Regions from separate parts of the Homo sapiens genome. Here regions 2, 3, 4, 5 and 6 are each linked to region 1. Evidence: promoter capture Hi-C in 16 types of primary human blood cells and fetal thymus (Javierre and others, 2016). All regions are on one chromosome and are shown on one strand. The core of a region is centred on a gene start or on the middle of the fragment in contact, and the rest is flanking DNA. Distances in the headings are between cores, read along the strand shown.

The links. The method cuts DNA at HindIII sites, captures the fragments that hold promoters and counts their contacts. A CHiCAGO score of 5 or more calls a contact.
Region 2: a fragment that was not itself captured here is called in contact with the fragment with the promoter of NUP155 in region 1 in 2 of 17 cell types (M2 macrophages and total CD4 T cells); the score reaches 6.0 in M2 macrophages.
Region 3: a contact is called between a fragment that was not itself captured here and the fragment with the promoter of NUP155 in region 1, in 2 of 17 cell types (monocytes and total B cells). The highest score is 5.6, in monocytes.
Region 4: a contact is called between a fragment that was not itself captured here and the fragment with the promoter of NUP155 in region 1, in 8 of 17 cell types (naive CD8 T cells, total B cells, naive B cells and 5 more). The highest score is 8.9, in naive CD8 T cells.
Region 5: a contact is called between a fragment that was not itself captured here and the fragment with the promoter of NUP155 in region 1, in 1 of 17 cell types (monocytes). The highest score is 5.4, in monocytes.
Region 6: a contact is called between a fragment that was not itself captured here and the fragment with the promoter of NUP155 in region 1, in 6 of 17 cell types (total CD8 T cells, naive CD8 T cells, total CD4 T cells and 3 more). The highest score is 8.8, in total CD8 T cells.

The regions. Positions count from the first base shown.
Region 1 is chr5:37,369,568-37,372,795 of GRCh38, reverse strand. It overlaps NUP155 (nucleoporin 155), which reads left to right and starts at 1,690. Exons shown (of 35, transcript NM_153485.3): 1 at 1,690-1,975. The coding sequence starts at 1,819. RefSeq lists enhancers at 1,698-1,787, 1,908-2,017. The HindIII fragment of the contact is 10,669 bases long and covers 680-3,228 here.
Region 2 is chr5:38,943,152-38,946,379 of GRCh38, reverse strand. RICTOR (RPTOR independent companion of MTOR complex 2) reads left to right here. Exons shown (of 38, transcript NM_152756.5): 34 at 656-889; 35 at 1,312-1,467; 36 at 1,811-1,934. It also overlaps a transcript of OSMR not described here. Among named protein-coding and RNA genes, the nearest start is that of OSMR, 99 kb to the right of the region's middle. The HindIII fragment of the contact is 1,799 bases long and covers 574-2,372 here.
Region 3 is chr5:36,139,390-36,142,617 of GRCh38, reverse strand. LMBRD2 (LMBR1 domain containing 2) reads left to right here. Exons shown (of 18, transcript NM_001007527.2): 3 at 19-116; 4 at 1,416-1,511. Among named protein-coding and RNA genes, the nearest start is that of MIR580, 7.0 kb to the left of the region's middle. The HindIII fragment of the contact is 1,876 bases long and covers 631-2,506 here.
Region 4 is chr5:36,158,179-36,161,406 of GRCh38, reverse strand. The region is part of intron 2 of SKP2 (S-phase kinase associated protein 2); the gene reads right to left. Among named protein-coding and RNA genes, the nearest start is that of SKP2, 7.7 kb to the right of the region's middle. The HindIII fragment of the contact is 828 bases long and covers 1,080-1,907 here.
Region 5 is chr5:36,217,767-36,220,994 of GRCh38, reverse strand. NADK2 (NAD kinase 2, mitochondrial) reads left to right here. Exons shown (of 12, transcript NM_001085411.3): 5 at 1,316-1,399; 6 at 3,111-3,228. Among named protein-coding and RNA genes, the nearest start is that of NADK2-AS1, 1.7 kb to the left of the region's middle. The HindIII fragment of the contact is 1,601 bases long and covers 769-2,369 here.
Region 6 is chr5:36,236,752-36,239,979 of GRCh38, reverse strand. The region is part of intron 1 of NADK2 (NAD kinase 2, mitochondrial); the gene reads left to right. Among named protein-coding and RNA genes, the nearest start is that of NADK2, 3.6 kb to the left of the region's middle. The HindIII fragment of the contact is 3,457 bases long and covers 2-3,228 here.

The DNA of each region.
Region 1 (3,228 bases), core at 441-2,940:
AACATTTTAATTTTCAGTTTGAGTTATTCACAAATATTAATAGATGTAACCAACATGAAACAAAAACTCTCTGGAATCCTGAATAATTTTTAAGGGTATCAAGGGGGTCCTAAGACCAAAAAAATTCATAATTATCTGTTCTAGGGAAGAGGTCAGCAAACTTTTCCTGTAAAGTGCCAGAGTCCGTATTTAAGGCTTTGCAGTCTTTTGTAGAAATTACTCGGTTTAGCAGTTGTAGTGGGAAAGCATAGGCAATATGCCAATGAATTAAGTTAGTTAGATTACACTTTGGGGAGCTTTACTTCTATGCAGGAATATCACAGCAACGTTGTTGAATCTTCCAATTTATGGAGTTGAAAACTTTGTGTATTTTGTCTCAAATTAAAAACAAACTCGGTGCCAGACCACCACTTTTCAATCTATGGTCTACCAAATAAAGTAAACTCACAGCTAGAGACCCAACTGCCTATCTATATACCAATGATAAAAAATCCAGTTTTTCTTGGTATATTGGCTATGTCAAATTTTAAGTGTAGATTGGTAACATCAAAGAACTTTCAATTTTCAGAAATGTAGTCAAGTCTTTGAGGGAGTAAAAATGTAATTCAAATAGCAAAAGACCAATTTAGAGTAATTCAGTTATTGATTTGTGAAATTCTGAAGAACATAACTGGAAGCTTTCTTAGGTGAGATTCTAAATAAGAGCAGCTTTCTAAAAAGTGCTTTGATTTACCCACTCAGGTTGCCTTCTGTAGTAAATGAAGCCTCTTTTACCTCTCTGCTTTCTCCTATCCTGCTATAGTTTATACCTATCCAAATAGAAAAATTATAATGAAGCCCTTTGTCTCTGCTTGAAGCACCTTAAGGACAGGAAACACTGTGTTAGTTTGATAGTCCCAGCACCAGGCACAAGGCAAGTATTCAGTTTCTTAGGATTGTATGAACTCTTGGGTTCCTATCTCATACGAGTTCCTATACTAGCGCTGGGAATGGAAAGATGAATTAGAACTGTCTGCTATCTCTGCCACGATAAAAAGCACGGCAGCGGTCCACCTGCACTCAGCTTCTTCTTAAACACGTATTTTATACTAAGGGGCAACAAAGTCAAAAGACAGCGACACGCAAATGGAAAAGCCTGATGAATTCTAATTTACACTGAAGCCCGCGAAGAATATAGTGAGATACTGGTTTATATCCCTCTCTGTGACAGCGACCTACCAATTCTTAACTACTCTCACAAAAGCAGTTACTTGGAGAACCAAACTGCGCGCTCATGCGCGAACTCATATAGCTGCAGTTAGCGGATACCGACGCGGGAAGTTCCAAGACTCAGGTCGAGCACGCGCTTAAACCAACGGAACCTGACCAACCTCCTAGGCCAGACACACGACCTAGCTCCCACCTACCGTATCCCTCCTCCCTCCTTCCTCCTCACCCTATCCAACCCCATCCCGCCCCTCTCCTTCCCTGTTCCCTCCCCTTTATCCTTCCCTTCCTTTCCCTCCCTCCCTTCCCTAAATAACCTACCCTAATTTTACCCTGCCACACCCCAAAACCCTCAACCCCCTCGAAAGCATCAGCAGCCTCCTAGCTCCACCCACAACCTCTAGCCCCCTCCCAACAGCTTCCTCTTCCCAGGCCAGAACGGCGTCTTCCAGTTCCCCACCGGATGAAGCGGAAGTGCGTCATGTCGAGGCGCCAAGGCGCTCGTTTGGCGCGCGCGCCCTAGGCGGCGGATCTAAGCTAACTTCTTGGATCTTTTCTTGTTTCTCCTTGGTTTTTGACTTTTTCTGGACCCTGGTGTCTACGATTTCCGAGATGCCGTCTTCTTTGTTGGGCGCGGCGATGCCGGCCTCTACATCTGCCGCAGCCCTGCAGGAAGCTCTGGAAAATGCTGGACGGCTCATCGACCGTCAGTTGCAAGAGGACCGCATGTACCCGGACCTTTCCGAGCTGCTTATGGTGTCTGCCCCAAGTGAGTGATAGTGACCCTGCTTTCTCAACCTAAAGGACTCTCGCCTGACTTCCTAATTTGCTACTTATCCCCAGCGTTGGTCCCGGCGAGGATATGCTGAGATTTATGGCACTGTTGGCTGCATTTTTGGAGAACAGCAAGCAGCTTCTTTTCAGGTTTTTTCCTTTCCTCACTTTCTTCATTGTAGATACTTGAGAGGGCAAGAGTGAAGAGCAAGCTCCCAGTTGAAGCAGAAAGAGGCAAAGACCTCAACCTTAATGAGCTTCTCGCCGCTCTCAAGTGCTTATGGCTAAGGCCATATGAGAAGCATCTCCAGATCCAAGTCCCAAATTTGTTCATTTCTCCTGTTAGTGTTTGAGTAGATCGTAAGAGCAAACGAAGTTAATTTGGAAATTTAGCATGTTATCTTAAAGATACGCTTTGCTTTATATTTATTTGTTTATTTATTGAGACGGAGCGGTTCCCTCTTCGCCCAGGCTGAAGTGCAATGGCGCGATCTCGGCTCATTGCAACCTCCGCCTCCTGGGTTCAAGCGATTCTTCTGCCTCAGACTCCCAAGTAGCTGAGATTACAGGCGCCTGCCACCAAGCCCGGCTAATTTTTGTGTTTTTTAAGTAGAGACGGGGTTTCACCATATTGGCCTGGCTGGTCACGAACTCTGACCTCAAGTGATCCGCCCGCCTCGGCCTCCCAAAGTGCTGGGATTACAGGCGCAAGCCACTGCACCCGGCCAAGAAACGCTTTATTATGTGTAGAGATGTGTGTTATGAAATGCTGGAGGATCTTAAAAGAACTACCAGTGGAATAAAGAAAGAGAACAGGGAAATCACAGTGCTTATGTACAGGGAGAGTAAGGCAGAATATGTGTTGACAATATAGGTGACTGGAAAGTAATTTGTTTAACAGTTTTAAGTTATAACCAGCTCCCCACGGCTTATGGAATTACATCAGTTGCTAGAAAAAGTGACCCCTTTGTGAGATGGAATTTGGAGAAAACCAGCGAAGTGTAAGAAAGAAAAGATTGTTGGTGAGCAAGAACCAAAGTAATCTAAATAGGATAATTTGTGCAGTGTAAACCGAGAACACTTCTGATTATTTATAAAAATCATTGATAGCTTTGTAATCAAAGAAATGATAGAAACAAAGATAGTATTTGCTCCCTACAGCTACTTACCAATGAGCGTGTCTTATAATACCTGATTGGCCTATTAGCAATTATCATCTTGAACAACATTACTCATTTTGGCCTCCTT
Region 2 (3,228 bases), core at 224-2,723, 1.6 Mb before region 1:
TTAGGAAGACTCACTTTTGGATCAACTTTAAAATTATACCAAAACAATTGTTAAAGTCAGCTTAAAATTAAACCACATTTTTGTGTATGTGTGAGGGACTTAACAGTGTTTTCAGTGAAGTACTCAACCTTTCAAGGAAATAGAAACCAAATTAGTTGTTTCTGTTTTTTAAAAGTAGCACATGAACAATGTATAACACTAATCCTCATAGATCCAGGAAATAGCTGTTTGTTTAGAGTAAGGAGAAAGAAATGTACTTATAAAATACACGGTCTTTGTTTTGAACTGTTATATTTTAATATGTAAATATAAGCCACAGGTTTTATAGCTTTATATTCTTAATGACTTTTTAAACAAATGCCTCTTTATACTTAGAATTATTACATATCTTTAGGCAAATATTGACGATAATTGAAATGATGTATTATATAATCTCAATTTTCCATTTTGTATTTAAAACACTATATATTAAAATAATAAACATCTGCTGGCTTTCCTTATTTTTATAACTTAAAGCAAATTATTCTTTTTTTCTTTCCAGTTAGATTTTGAGTCATAAAATGTGCTTAAGCTTTCTTTAAAATTTCACATAATTTAAGGTACCTTGAAAAGTATTATCTTTATTGGATTATGTTTTATATTTACTTATGCACAGGTCTTCCATCTGGAACTGGAGGTCTTGTAAAAAATTCTTTTCACTTGCTACGACAGCAGATGAGTCTTACGGAAATAATGAATTCAATCCATTCAGATGCCTCTCTGTTTTTAGAAAGTACAGAAGACACTGGACTACAGGAACATACAGATGATAACTGCCTTTATTGTGTCTGTATTGAAATTCTGGGTTTCCAGCCCAGCAACCAACTGAGTGCAATATGTAGTCATTCAGGTAAGTGATCACGTCCCACCTTCAGAAAAACCTAGTGATGACTAAAGTTCTCTGGTTTACTTTTCCAAATTTCTTTTTGGTATTCTAATTCAGAGTTTCCCAGCTGGTGAGCTGCAGCACACTGATATGCCAAATTATGTTATGCTGAGATGCTGATCCTCTCACGGTTCCAGGTCACAGTGGGGCCTGAGTCTGACAGATCCCTGGATTAGGTCTTTTCCACTGTGAACAGCCCTGTCCAGGCCCTTTGCATGCTGTAGTTATTTTCATTTTCTATGAGGAAAAAAGTTTTGGAAGTGTTTGGTATATTGCATACAATTAGAGAAGATGTTATTTTATATTATTTCTTTTTAGCATGCAATGTAAGCACAGGAATTAAGCCGTTATGGTGCTTTAATTGAAATAATTATTTTTTTCTTCAGACTTTCAAGATATTCCATATTCTGATTGGTGTGAGCAGACTATCCATAATCCTTTAGAAGTGGTTCCCTCTAAGTTTTCGGGGATTTCTGGATGCAGTGATGGGGTGTCTCAAGAAGGCTCAGCTAGCAGCACCAAAAGCACAGAATTGTTACTAGGTGAGTCTTCAGATTCAAATCCAATCATTATTAGTAAAACTGTTCTGATTAGTTGGTTTTGTTTTGTTTTTCGTAAATACTGTAAATTAAAGTTGTCTCAAAACAGTAATACGTCCATTTTAGTGAAGCAATTTAACACTGTTAATTATTGCACCTATATCACCCACTGACATAGAGCCTCTTAGCTATCTGCTTTTATTAGAGTTTTGCTCCCAAAATGATTGGTAGATCATGTGTAATTGATCTCTAGGTCTTTAGGTGAAGTTTAAAAATAAATTTCATGAGTTTTAATCATTTTATTGTGACATAGATAATATTTAACTTCTCCCTGAAATCTTTTCAGGTGTTAAAACAATTCCAGATGATACACCAATGTGCCGTATACTCCTTCGCAAAGAAGTTCTAAGATTAGTCATTAATTTGAGTAGTTCAGTTTCAACTAAATGTCATGAGACTGGGCTTTTAACGTGAGTAAACTATGTGCATGAGTATTATTTGTTTATTCTGTTTTTTAAGTCGAGAAAAGATACTTGAAATACTTCAAAAGTTAGGCTAGTTAACTTACATCAGTAGTTCTAAACTGCATTGCATACCTGTGTGAGGCTAGATTTTCTTTAATACTTCAGCCAAAACAACATATGGCAACAGATTGAATGTAGAAGCAAGTATGAGAATCCAGCTATCTTCTATTAAGCCAGACTTTTGAAGAGATCTGCAAAAAATGTAAAATAATGCCACTCTTCTCACTTTTTTACTTTTGGAAAATACAGTTATTTTTATTAAAATACATGTTAACATGTAATGGATTTATTTTTAAAATAAATTAATGCATGTTAGGAAATTCTCTCAATTTTAATTTCTAATATAGTAGTTAATGGTGGCTGTAACCCACACAAAAATAAGCTTTTTTGGGTCTTCAGTAATTTTTAAGAAAGTAAGTCCTGAGACCAAAAAGTTTGAGGAAAGTGGGCTTACATGTAACAAGTCATATTTTCTTGGTTTAATTTTTTTCTTATTATTTAAAGCAGTGGTTCTTAAAAGAAATGCACCTCAGGGTCTCCTGCAGGGCTTTTTTATTTTGTATTTTGTATTTCTTTTTTGAGACGGAGTCTTGCTCTGTCACCCAGGCTGGAGTGCAGTGGTGCAATCTCGGCTCACTGCAACCTCTGCCTCCCGGGTTCAAGCAATCCTCCTGCCTCAGCCTCCCAAGTAGCTGGGATTACAGGTGTGTACCACCACACCTAGCTAATTTTTGTATTTTTAGTAGAAACAGAGTTTCGCCAGGTTAGCCAGGTTGGTCTCAAACTCCTGACCTCAGGTGATCTCCTGTCTCAGCCTCCCAAAGTGCTGGGATTACAGGCATGAGCCACCGTGCCCAGCCAGCTGTAGGGCTTTTTTTTAAGGGTGATATAGGTATTGGGGTCCCACATAGGTATCAGGGTCCCACAGCAGACCTCTGGGCTGGGAGCTCTGGGAGCGGGCCCTTAACTGGTCACTCACCCAACTCACAGCTGATTCTGAGGTGCTTTCCTAGCTAAAAGCTGCTATTTGAAGTATCCAAAGAAATAGCCCAGTCAGGGATGTTAATAACTTAACTTTAAAGATGTATTTCTATTTTAAAACTTAATTTGGAACATATTTTAATCATCCTAGGCTGATAAATATATTTTGCAATTTCTCATGCCAATAAAAAAGAATGCTTCAATTTTACAAGAAGTATTCAGGTTTTGATAATCATTTTTTTTAAAAAAAAACCCAAAC
Region 3 (3,228 bases), core at 319-2,818, 1.2 Mb after region 1:
ATACATTCGTTGCTTTAGACAATATACAACCGGTGCAAGCATGCTGCTGCAAATTCAAGCCCTCCTGAGAATAGCAACATTACAGGATTGTACGCAACTGCTAACCCTGTTCCAAGGTATTTCCTTTTTTAAAAAAAATATATAAACATTGTAGGGGACACATTGTTTAAAAATTGAAAGTTTTTACCATCCAGACTTTATATTTATGTAAGTTATCCTCATTCTCTACTAATTCTCCCCACCTCTATTCTTTCCTAGTAGACTTTTCATTACATCATATTCTAATTAAATCTAATTTTTAATATTTATTGGTCCACAAAGCCCTTCAGTAGACGGTAGTGAGAAACTTGAAGAAGTCCTGATTTTTTAGTCCTGGTTCTTCTTTACCAAGTATGTAATTTCTAAAACCTGTTTTTCCTCTCAGCCTATCTCAGATTTAAAAACGTGGGATGTATTTTCACTTTTGCCTAATTTACAAGGTTATAATAAAGACAAGTATTTCTGAACTTATGGTATTCCTTTCATATTGCACATCCTTCAAAAGCATTATAGATTTACATAAAAAATTAATAAAGTTCAAATTGTCCAAAGATTATATTGAATTCATATCGAACTTTTAAGTAAAAAGCTTATATATGTTGACTATAGCCTTTATGAATGCTTTCAGTAGTATTTGCATGCTTCTTTATGCATATTTTTAAAAAATCTAACTTCAGAAAAGGTAAATTTAAAATGCAGGTGTTACTTCCATTTGAAGCACTATTAAAAAAACTGGATAAAGATCAGCAGCAGCTACAGATTGTTGCAAGTTCTTGGGATATCCTTCTAGCTTAGGAATATGGCTCCATGGCAGAATTTATGATCAGAGACTCATCATGTCTTCAAAAATTTAAACAGAATTATGTATAATTGCTAGCATGCATCTCCATAGAAGCTATGTTATAGTGAGTGATTTAATTAGCATTACAATTTTCAGGAATTAATTACCTAATGTTTTCCCCTCCCAACCCCTATAACCTGAAAAAAAAAAAACCCAACCTATAAATGGATTGTGTATTTTAAAGGTAATCATTAGAAATTTTATTTCATAATACATTTGCTTTTAATGATTGTTGCACTTTTAGTCTATTAGTTGAACATTAAGTTTTCTTTTTACCCAATGACTAAAAATACACTGAAAGTTGAAAACTTAAATGACATTTTCAGAACAATCTATTTTGTTGCTTTTGTGTGTTTTTTTAGTTTGGCAGTCAGCTTTGAATTTTAAAATTTCTTTGAAATTTTATGGGTTATTGATTATTAGAGTCAGTAATTTAAAATCTGAATGTAAATTAACTTGGCCACATGCAAATTAATTGTATAATTCATTTAAGTAGTCATTTATGATTAGTTGGCTTTAACTTTTTATTCAACAGCCAGCATCCTTGTTTCAAGCCATGGAGTTACATTCCTGATGGAATCATGCCAATTTTCTGGAGGGTAGTGTATTGGACGTCACAATTTTTAACATGGTAAGTTACAGTAAATGATAAAATTTTTAAAATTTTGGCTAAAGGAATAAAATGTTTTTCAATCAATATAGTTTGGAATTTATTTATGTGTCATATGCATTCTGAATCTTTCTACCCATTATTTTTATCTTTCTGCTGTGCTCCAAACTCATAGTTATCCACTGTCTACTAAGCATCTCTTAGATCTGCAAACAACTGCACTCTAAAACTGGAGGCACTGAACATTGCAAGAGAAAAATTACATAGCAGAGTAGTGCTTTTGTAAAGTCATGTCTATTAAATTCAACTGGGCTCTCAACATTGCCAGACTTTCCTTCTTTGTTTTTTTTAGTTTGCTTTCTTTCCATTTTCTACAAGAAATATTTCCATTCACTTCAAACTTCCGTCCTCTTTATGGCTTTCTCTCTTGTGCTCCCTAACAACAACAACAAAATCATCTTTACTCTTAGCCTCTTAGCAGATGACTACTTTCCATCCAGCAGTTAAAACAGGAGTCATCAGACGGCAGCTCTTTCAGCTTCTCACCAACAAATCTACATACCTACCCATCTTTTTTTCTTTCCCCTCCAAAGATGGAAGAGTCATGCTTGTTAAAGCCAATACTTCTGTCACAGGATCCTTAGGGGTGTTGTTTTGCCAGCTGGAAACCTCTATGGCCAGTAGCACCTTTGCCTGAATTTTACTCAGGCCCGCTGGGCTTATTCCGCTTACTCAGCCTGGCAGGTTGCACTTAGCTCATGCTCCTGGCTCTGATCTCATGACTCCCAAGGGCGAGCCAGGCATGGAGTGGTGAGGGGTGTGTGAGTGAGTGAGCATGGGATCCAGCCACTGAGCACAGCCAGACACGCTGGCTGCTGTGGCAGGGTGGGCAGCTCCAGGCATCGGCACAGGTGTCGGCTCTGTGAAAGCCTGTGGCTGGGTCAGATGCACTGCAAGCAGCTTCTGCTGTGGGCACCTGCATCTGGATGAGAGGAATGTGGTGGTACCCAGAAGCTTGGAGATGCCAGAAACCTCAGAGCTCCAAAGAGGGTGTCACAGCCCTAGCTTGGGGAGCCCCTAGATCTGGGCTCCTGGAAGGGCCACAGCTCTTCTCTTCTCGTCACCTGCAACATGGCAAGTGGCAGGGCCATGTTTCAGCCCTGTTTGTGTTTCAGCTCCTTCAGTTCTGCCATTCAGCAGGTCCTGAGTTCTTGTCCTACATCCAGGAAGAATGAGGTATGCAGACAACTGGAGGGTGAGCAAGGTGAAGAGGTGCTTTATTGAGTGATAGTACAACTCTCAGGAGACCCAAAGTGGATAGCTCCTTTCTGCAGGCAGGTTGTCCTGACAAGTATAGCTCTCAGTGGAGAGGAGCCCCAGAGTGGGTAGCTCCTATCTGCAGGCAGGTTATCCCAATCGTCTGTGCAGCCCCCAGTAGAGAGGAGACCTGAAGTAGATAGCTCCTATCTGTAGTCAGGTTGTCCTGTCATCTACCTAAGTGGGGCTGAGTCTGGGGTTTTTATGGGCTTCAGAGAGGAGAAAGTGTGCACTGATTGGGCCATAGGCAGACCTGGATAAAGCACCCTAAGTTCTCACTCTGGTCCACAGAGCTGATGGCCTGGCCTCCATGCTTCAGGCTGTCCCTGGCTTGAAGGTGGGGCTTCACCGGGGACCTGCCCACTTCTGCCCAGGAGCCTATCTGCCTCCTGCCACCATCAATCATGTCATTTATGGCACC
Region 4 (3,228 bases), core at 244-2,743, 1.2 Mb after region 1:
CGTGACATCAACAAGGACAGGCCACTTATGTACCATAATTTCATTATTTACTTACTCATCTCTCTAGACCCCCAGGAGCTCTTGAGAAACAAAAACGCTTTTTTTTTTTTTTTTAACAATTTTTGTATTTTCAGGAACTAGCATAAAATTGATACATTCATCCACTCCCATATTTATAAAATATGTACTATACACTGAGGTCTATTCTAGGTTTTAAGGACACAATGATAAATAAGGCACAATCCTGACCCTTATTCTGCTCAGAGTTTGAGAGATATAGACAAACAGGAAACTTCAATAACCTATCCTGATGGGCTACAGTAGGATTCGGGGTGCTGTGCAGCTTATGGGAATGGCGCAGGGGTTAGGGAAGCCTTTCTGGAGGAAGTGGCCTCTCTTGAAGAATGAGTAGGAGATACACAGTTGTTCAATGAATGCCTGTTCCCCTAGCCTCACGCCCTTCAGGGGACAAAATTAAAGGACTGACTGAGGCCCTGAAAGCTAGGGGTAGAAAGCTGAAGGCAGATCACCCCTGCTGATCTGGGGAGGCAGCTGGAGGTTGTGAGGAGGCTCCTCGACGTGGCAGCTGTTCCATCACTGCCACAAAGTTCCTCCAAAGTCAACATGGGCAGGGGACAAAGGTTCTCAAACCAGGCTCTTGCCCTGCTCCCCAAATTGAAAACAAAGTTGAATGACAGGCTTTTCTCAAGTTTTTCTCCCATTAATCCAACTCTCTCAGACCTCTGCTGCCTCTTACATATCTAGATCAGAATCTAGTAATTGATTGGGCATAACTATATTTAGCTATAAGTATAGTCATCCACTCACGTATTTATTAACCATGTACTATATACACTGAGGTCTGTTCTAGGTTTTGGGCCACAACAATAAGTAAGGTACAATCCTGACCCTTATTCTACTCTGAGTTTGAGAGATACAGACAAACAATTAAACAGGAAATTTCAATAAACTATCCTGATGGGCTACAGCAGGATTCAGGGTGCTGTGCAGCACATGGGAATGGTGCAGAGGTTAAGGAAGCCTTCCTGGAGGAAGTGGCCTCTATGGAAGAGTAAGCTTAACTATACTTCAATAACATACTTAGCTATTTTGAATCTAATATGTTGAGATTTTACTATAATCTGTAAAAATCATACTGACACCATACGCTGGGCCTCCTCAACACATTTGAGGACTACTGGACTGAGAAAGCAGCACAGTTTCTATCAGAATCCTGGCTGTGTTGCCCCAAGTCTGTGAACTTGGGCAAGTTACTTAATCTTTCTGGCCTCAGTTTCTTTACCTGCAGGAAAGGAAATTGACAGATTTATCTTGCAAAATTGTTCAGTGAAGAGTAAATGAGGTACAAGAAAAGATTAAATAATGCAGCAGGGAGTAAAACTTTCTTTTCTATATTCCTCTCCTTTCCCAGTTAAGTCTGGGTATTTTCTTCATGCAATGACCTTTTCAGTGCTGCTCTGAATTTTCACCCATGGGCAGACACTGGACAAGGTCTGCATGGTATGACTTACCAAAACCCCGTATCTGCCCTTTATTTAAGTTTGGGTCCCCCAGAAGCAGATTCTGAAGCTCTGACTTCAAGTAGTTTATTTGGGAAGTGATGCCAGGAAGCACTAGAAAGAGTGGAGAAGACAGAGGTGGAAGGGAAGAAAGCCAACCTGGAGTAGGCTAATAGGCAGGTTATCCCTATGGGCAATTGGGGTTCAAATCTTCTGGGGACTCCAGTAAACCATCTAGAAACTACCCCAGAGCTGTCTCAACCAAGGGCACGAGTGCTGGGGTATTAATCCATCAATTGCTGTTGGTCACTATTTGGGGACTCCCCAGTATTCCTGCCCAGAGAAAGCCCTCAGGCATGGAATCTCATCTACACGTAGGCAAAAGCTTTGGCATGTAAGGGAATGGGGGGCTTCAAGGGGCTATAGATAGGGCACCAACAGAAATTATGGCTGGGGAAAGGAAATTAGAAAAGCTTGCTATGAAGTACAGGGCAGGAGAAATAAATTAACAAACTTGGTGCTTTCTATTAGGAAGACATAAGAAATCAGGACCAATTAAAAGAGCAGTAGCAGCCAGGTAATTAAAGTGCTAGAGGAAAATCTGGCATAGTGATGAATGCAGAGGTCAGTAGACCTAACCAATGAAGACTGCATGTGAGACTCCAAAGTCTGGAGGACTTTGTGTTGCAACTTCCATCTTTGCCTTCCCAACTCCTCCAGATTTCAGCTTAAATGGCACCTGCTCAAAGAAGCATTCCCACCCAGGATACCACCACAGGCCCCATGCCCAGATTTGCACATCCATTACCTAACAATGCCTGGCACATAACAGGACTCTATAAATATTTGCCAAATGTATTTATTAGCCCTCTTCATTCAAATGGTGAATGTGCTAATTCTTTATTAGTGTGAATGGCTAACCCTTATTAACCAATTAACGACTATGTGCACAGCACTGTTGGCATATGGAGGGGATGAGGCTGAAGACAAAAACCCAGAGCAGAAGGGAATGTCCTCTATCAGTATAGCTGTAGTCTCTGGGAGATGGGGGCTGGGGCTTCAAGAAAACATGCAACTATGATAAAAGAGACAAGGTCACACAATCAGTAAGTGGCAGAGGGGGAATTTAAACTCAGGTCTGATTTCAAATCATGCCCTTTCCATCCTAGTGGGTTCTAATATTCTATGCTCTCCTCTGTTGTAAGTACAAATTTTGAAAAGGTGAGAATTAAACCCGGACTTGCTATGGAAACAGAAATCAATCAGGGCTAGGGAGTGAGTGGAGGAGGAGAGAGAAAATAAAACAAAGATGCTATCAATGGGTTCACCACCAAATGGAAGGAGCAAGGTCCTAGAAAACACACATACTCAGCTAGCAGCCAAGTACCCAGTGCTCTTACTCAGCTGACCACAGAATGACACTAATCCTAGGGGCCCCGGGTGGGGGTACCACAGCCTGATATGGGCTGCTGTCCCAGCAGATGGGGCAGAAGTTTGTCTTTAATAGCTGCTCTAGCAATAGGCATCCAGGCTGTGATATGCTTAATCTAATTTTCCTTGCCATATTTAATTCTCAAAACATTAGCCATCTGTTTCCTGAATTCATGATGAAACTGCTGCCTGGTCTGTTTGCAGAGAGCGGAAGGAAAAATCCAGAGGTCTTTTCTCCACTTGTCTCTGCTAAATCCAGCAAGGCTGTAGCTGCATA
Region 5 (3,228 bases), core at 320-2,819, 1.2 Mb after region 1:
TCATAAATGGTATTGCAGCATCTGTATTGGTCTTTAGGATTGTTCATTGTGGGGTAGGACAGCCACCATGATGTGAGGATACTCACAAGCAGCTCTGTGGAGAGGCTCACGTAGAGGGTGATTGAGGCCTCCTGCCAATGGCCAGCACCAATTTGCCAGCCATGTGAGTGAGCAACCCTGGAAGTGGTCGTGCTAGTCCAAGTCAAGCCTTCAGATGCCTGCCGCCCTAGCTGATATCTGACTGTAACCTCATGAGAAAGTCTTCTCTCTGCAAGGGTTTTAGACTTGCAGTTGACCTCAGCAGGTATTATTCTATCAAATGACTGTTGATACCTTTTATATACTTAACATTGTGTGAACTATTACAATGAATATAAAAATTTAAAAACCTAGGCCTTACGCTTTCTTAACCTCAGTGTTGACCTGCTTAGATAAAGAAGTTGACTATTCACAACTTTGTAAAAACACTTTTCTGTGCCCTTCACGCTTACAAGTTGATTTACATTTATTATCAGGAGTTTGTTTTGCTAAGCCTACCCTCAGCCTTTTCTTCAAGATTGGAGTATCATTAAATGATGATGACTGAGCCTTCTGGACATCTTTAGGTGCCACATACTCTCATCTACACCAACCAATAGGCAATCTTACCACCTTATAATTTGCAATGGTTTGTTTTAATTTGTCTTCCACATCAAGCTATGAACTCCTTAAAGGAGTTTCATTATTTATGTATTTTTGAATAAATGAAGGATTACATTGGATTAAGCTTTCTCAGTTCTTTTTTAGTGACTTAGGATATCTTAAATGACATTTCAGAAAGGATTATGGTTCAAAACATTTCACATAAATATTTTGATTCCTTTTGAGATTGCTGGTTTATCCTGATTTTGGAGATGAGGAAGCTGATGCTAAAGTGACTTGCCCAAAGTTAATAGTTAAATAATTTAAAGGTTAGAATAAAAATTGGAAGGTTAGTAGTTAAATAATGATTTGAACAACACTGTACCATTAAATAACTTTACAGGGTAATTAGTAGCAGATTTGCTGCTATTTTTAGTTTCATTGTAACGTAGAAACTCACATATTATTATGTATTATGGCATTAAAGCTGGATGTAGACTACTAATTCTATCTGGTCTTTTTTGTTTTTATTTAAAGAACACAATTTTGTGGCAAAAAATGGAATATAGGGTAGACATTTTTAGAATTTCATTTCTTATTTTTATAGCTTAGTGATACCTTTTGATTAAATTTTTTTGCTTCACCTTTTTTCTTTTCCTCTTTATATCACCAAAAAATTCCTGTTAAAATATAGGTCTGAGGGTCATTTATGCCTGCCCGTTCGATATACACATTCCTTTCCAGAAGCCTTACAGAAGTTCTATCGTGGTGAGTTCAGGTAGGAATTTCTTACGGTTGTTCTTATGTAAGTATCTTAATAAGTATGTGCCATTAATAATGCTGTTAAAAAACAGAACAAATCAGGCAGGGCACGGTATCTCACGCCTGTAATCCCAGTACTTTGGGAGGCCGATGCGGGTGGATCACTTGAGCTCAGGAGTTTGAGACCAGCCTGGGCAACATGGTGAAACCTTGTTTCTACAAAAAATACAGAAGTTAGCTGGGCATGGTGGCAAGCACCTGTAGTCCCAGCTACTTGCGGGGCTGAGTTGAGAGGATCACTTGAGCCCAGGAGGTAGAGGTTCCAGTGAGCCGAGATCATGCCACTGCACTCCAGCCTGGGTAACAGAGTGAGACTGTGTCTCAAAACAAACAAACACACAAAAAACCAGAACAAATCAGATAATGTTTGGATTACTCCATAGATATAACAGTAGCCATTAAAAGTAATGTATTAGCTGAGTCACAAATAGGTCTAATTTACCTTCTCCTAGTCCAGTTGGAATTGTGGAGAGAAACCCTGACAAATATTGGTTGGCCTATAATATAACTGCATATAGAAATTTTTTTTCTCCTTCAGTGAGATAGCAGGCATGTCTCTACTTTCTTAACCTCGTTACATGTCCTTATCAGTTTAGTGGAAAGGTAATTAAAACTTTGGCTAAAATTGTTTGAATTTTCAGATTTTATATTTTTTATCTTTATCTCCCATCTAGTAATGATTGAGAGCTGGATTTAATCCAACCATGCTGAGATTCCTGGTATCTGTCTCACATAAAAGTATTTCTTAAGCAGTGGGGATGGGATTTTTAAAAGTTTCTTTTACTTAATGTGTTCAGTGGTCAGACCATCAGGAAAAGAGGAAGGTGGAGGAAGGAGCATGAGGTTGGCCAATTATATTTGAGAGAGCTAAGTTGGACTACTTTTTATTTCCTGACTTGGACTAGATTTTATAGTTGGGGAAAGCTTTTCCCACAGATGTTTGTGAAGTTGTATTAGATCTTCTTTTCAAGAATCATTTCATTACCAGTAATTCTAGTTTCTAGTCATTTCAGAAGTTTGACAAGAAATGGCTAATTTATAGCTACCAAGTGGAAGTATATTTTTGTATACTTACCTAGCAGAATCTGTCCCATTGACTTTCGATACATTGATTATCAGTTTTGAAATCAATTAAACCTGATTGTTTTTTTCCTTTTACCAGAGATGTTATTTAAATTTTTAGGTGTAATCAACACTTTTATTTATTGTTTCTTAATCCTTTTTTCCTTTTATTGTTTTAAAAAACCTCCATTATAAAATTTGTGGAGAGGGATTTTTATCTAATCCAGCCATCTGAACACAATATTATTTTAATTTAAGAATGCTTTCCTTTTTGTATAATATTTTTTGCTGAGCAAAGCACAAGCTATATCTAGCTCAGTATCTTGGACTTTATGGGTTCTTGATAGAGTTTGACTTAATTTAAGTTACTTGGGAGATTTTGTACAAGCACATTAGGTGTTTCCGTTATAATTGAAAAGAGAATAAATATTCAAATCTGTCATTGATAAGGAAGCTATAGGCTTTAGGTGTTTCTGATATAATTTATTCATGGAATAACTGGTAACTAGTTTTTATTAACTATTTAATTTGGTTAAATTATTATAATGTCTACTCTTTAATTTATTCTATTTTAACATAATTTGCCTTTTCTTCATTTTTCTAAGGTGGTTGTGGAGGCAGAGAATCAGGTTATACCTTGAAGGGACTGGCATAAACCCTGTACCTGTGGACCTTCACGAGCAGCAGCTAAGCTTGAATCAGCACAATAGAGCCCTTAACATT
Region 6 (3,228 bases), core at 481-2,980, 1.1 Mb after region 1:
TTCCCACAACAATTTAAAATAGCTCACTTGGCATGTTCAGAGTGTGGGATTAAGAGTGAAGAGCTCAGTTCTAGGCCCTGGTTCTGTGTGGTTAACTTCCTATGTGTGTTCTTCTCTGGGCCTCATAGGTGGAAATGATACTTTTTGTATAGTAGTGTCAGTTTTCAAAGTGCTTCACCTAATTCAGTATGTGAATTGCAGAGGTAGTACCAGATAGCCTCCAAGGCCCTTTACAGTACTGGCATTTTGAAACTGTGGATAACGTTTTCAAGGCCTCAAGAAAATGGGTGGCATCTCAGTTAGGATTAACTCTTGGACCTCTGAACTAGATTACCACTTAATAAAAAAACTTTTAAAATGTAGGGAAAATCAATAAGTCTTAAAAAGTCAAACTACCTAAGTGTACCCGTTCTGAGTGGAGAAATCTCTAATAGGTAAATATTTGTCTATTGCTAGGTAATGCTGTTTGGGATAAGCCAGCTTTGAAGTAAAACTCGTGGGCTGTAGAATACACAGTTTTGTAATTGCCAGGCAGTGGAATAGTTTTTGTTGGTGGTGTTGTCATTACAGTTTTATTGGATAAGTTCCTTACTGATTTGAATTTGTGTTATAGTTTATATAAAGGCCCATACTCAGAATGCAATAGCATTAGTTGTAGACCAGATGAGAGATTATTAACAGGCCAAAGAATACTGGGCTGTGTGAAGCTGTCCTAAAATGGGATTCTGTAATAGGAGTGATAAGATGATAAGTATTATTTGTTATATTGCTGGGGTAGAAAATACTAAGTTATGTGAATCATGTGAATTGGATGGATATAAAAGAAAGTGGCCAAGTGCTTGAGTCTCACCATGGCTGCTGTGTCTATAGTGTCATGGTAACTTGGTTTTTTGTCAAAGCATTCTCTTTTGTTGTCGTGGTGGTGGTTTTTTGATGTAAAACAGGTCTGTTTTAGGCTATTTGTTAAAATGCAAATGGAAGATGAAGGATAGAGTGCCAGTATAATTTTATACCCTGAAGGCTGATGATTTTCTAACTTTGTAGAAATGTAAACAATTACAGGAAATATTTTTTAGTTGATAAGGCATGCACAGAATAGGTTTACAACCTTCAAGCTAGTCAAAGTTTTGACTTTTATTTACCGTTTCATATTGGTTACATTGCTTTATTTTAAAATCTTGTCTTTTTCCCCATTGATTGACCAGTGACTTATTTTGTGATATCAGATTTCTGGTCAAACATTTTACCTCTACTGTCTCATGACCTTTCAAAGGCCAGTAAAACTATTATTACAATTTACTTGCATCATTAAGAGATGTAGCTGTTGGCAAATGTGCAATTGCTATTAACAGGGTCCTTGACACAAATTAGAACTCTAGATGAAACAAAACTGACTTGGAAAGGATTTTGACACCAGAAACATACCTCATTGGTCAAAAAAAGGTTTTATTTAAAGCTCTTTTTCACCTGTCACCAGGGATGGGGAACTGAATAAGGAAAAAAAATTTTAATGTAGAACAAATAAGAAGTCAGCAGTTTCTGCCCTCCTCTCCATCATTCCAGGTCTCACAACTCGGCAACCCTTTTACTGGTTCCTATTTTTAGTTTTGTTTTTTAAAATTCATAATGGGATAGAATAATTTCATTTAACAGTCTGCCGTGTTATTGGATTAAACTAGATGACTTGGAAGGTGTAGCACCTTGGATTTCCCTTTTGTTTTCTGAAGATTTTGTGGCTTAGGTTGTAGCACTTGGGCAGATAATACTTTTGCCACAGGGTATGCAATAAGCGTACCATGGTATACTTTTGTCAGGTGGTATACTTTTGCTACATTGTATGCAATAAGTATATTACATACAATATGATTGTTAATCAAATTAAAGAGCATGATTTGGAGTACTGCCAGAGCTTTCTAACTGAATCCTTGCTCCTCTCAAATCTTCTAGACACAGTTACCAGAGTGTCTATCTAAAGTGAACATCTGGCCCTTTCTCTCTTTTGCTTGGAACTCCACAGAAGCTCCCTGTACCCTTTAGTCACCAAGAGTACTTGTTAAAATGCAGACACCTGAACCTTAGCCCCGCAAGACTCTGACTCAGTTTGTGGAGAATTCCCAGACTTTGGTTTTATGAAGCACACACCTGAAATTAATGACTCCGGCTGAATTCCAGGGATGTGTTTTATCCCTGGTTGGCATGTGGTCCCCAGTTAAACTGAGAAACACAGTTGTGGGCTCAAGTTCATGATCTTTAGAATGGCAGATAAGTCCCTTCATGAACTGGCTATCTCTTGAGCTTCACTTCTGATCACTTCTTGTCTTAAATTTCATATTCTAGCAATTTCAAACTGTGTTAATTTCCATTAGATGTTGTACTGATTTAGTTTAATTTATGGATCAGTAGCACATAAAATGATTCAAAATATAAAAGATACAAAATATTATACAAAGAAGTCTTTCTGTTACTTGTCATTTGTCATTCAGTTTTGTCCCTGGAAGTAACTGTTATCAATTTCTTGTGTTTTCTTCCAGAAGCAACCTATACCTACAAATCAGCACAGTGAAATATTCTTTTTCTTTGCCTCATCTCTTTTTATTCAATGATAATATACTATTTAAGCTATTATGTGCCTTTTTTTTTAGCCTAACAGCATTTGTGGAGATTGTCATAAAGAACATTCCCATTCTTTTTAAAAATAGTATGTATGTTACTTTATTTTGTGTCCTAATTTATCTTCTGCTATTAAACACATTCTGAAATGAATAACATTTGTGTTTATATGCATGTAAATCAAGCTCTAAGACAAATACCTAAAGTTGAAATTGTTGAGTCAAAAGCCTTGTGCATATAAAGTTTTAACAGATTTGGCCAAATTGCTTCCCTTAGAGATTATACAGATTTTTACTTTCACCAGCCCTGTATAAGGGGACTTATTTTTCCATACATAGTTCATTAAATTGTTGGGTCTTTGCCAACCTGGTGGGTGAAAGATGGTATTTCAGGGTGGTTGAATTTGCATCTCTCAGTGTCTATGTGTCTACTTTTGTAGCCTCCTTTGATTTGAATGCTCTTCTTCCTCTATCCAATTCCTGTTTTTTTTTTTTTTTTTTTTGAGGTTAAGCTCAGACATTACTCTCTCAGGATGCCATCCTTGGTAACCTTGCTGTGCCTCTGCCTTTCTCTGGCTACCAAGATTGTGTTAGGCATTCTTCACTTCATAATACTTAT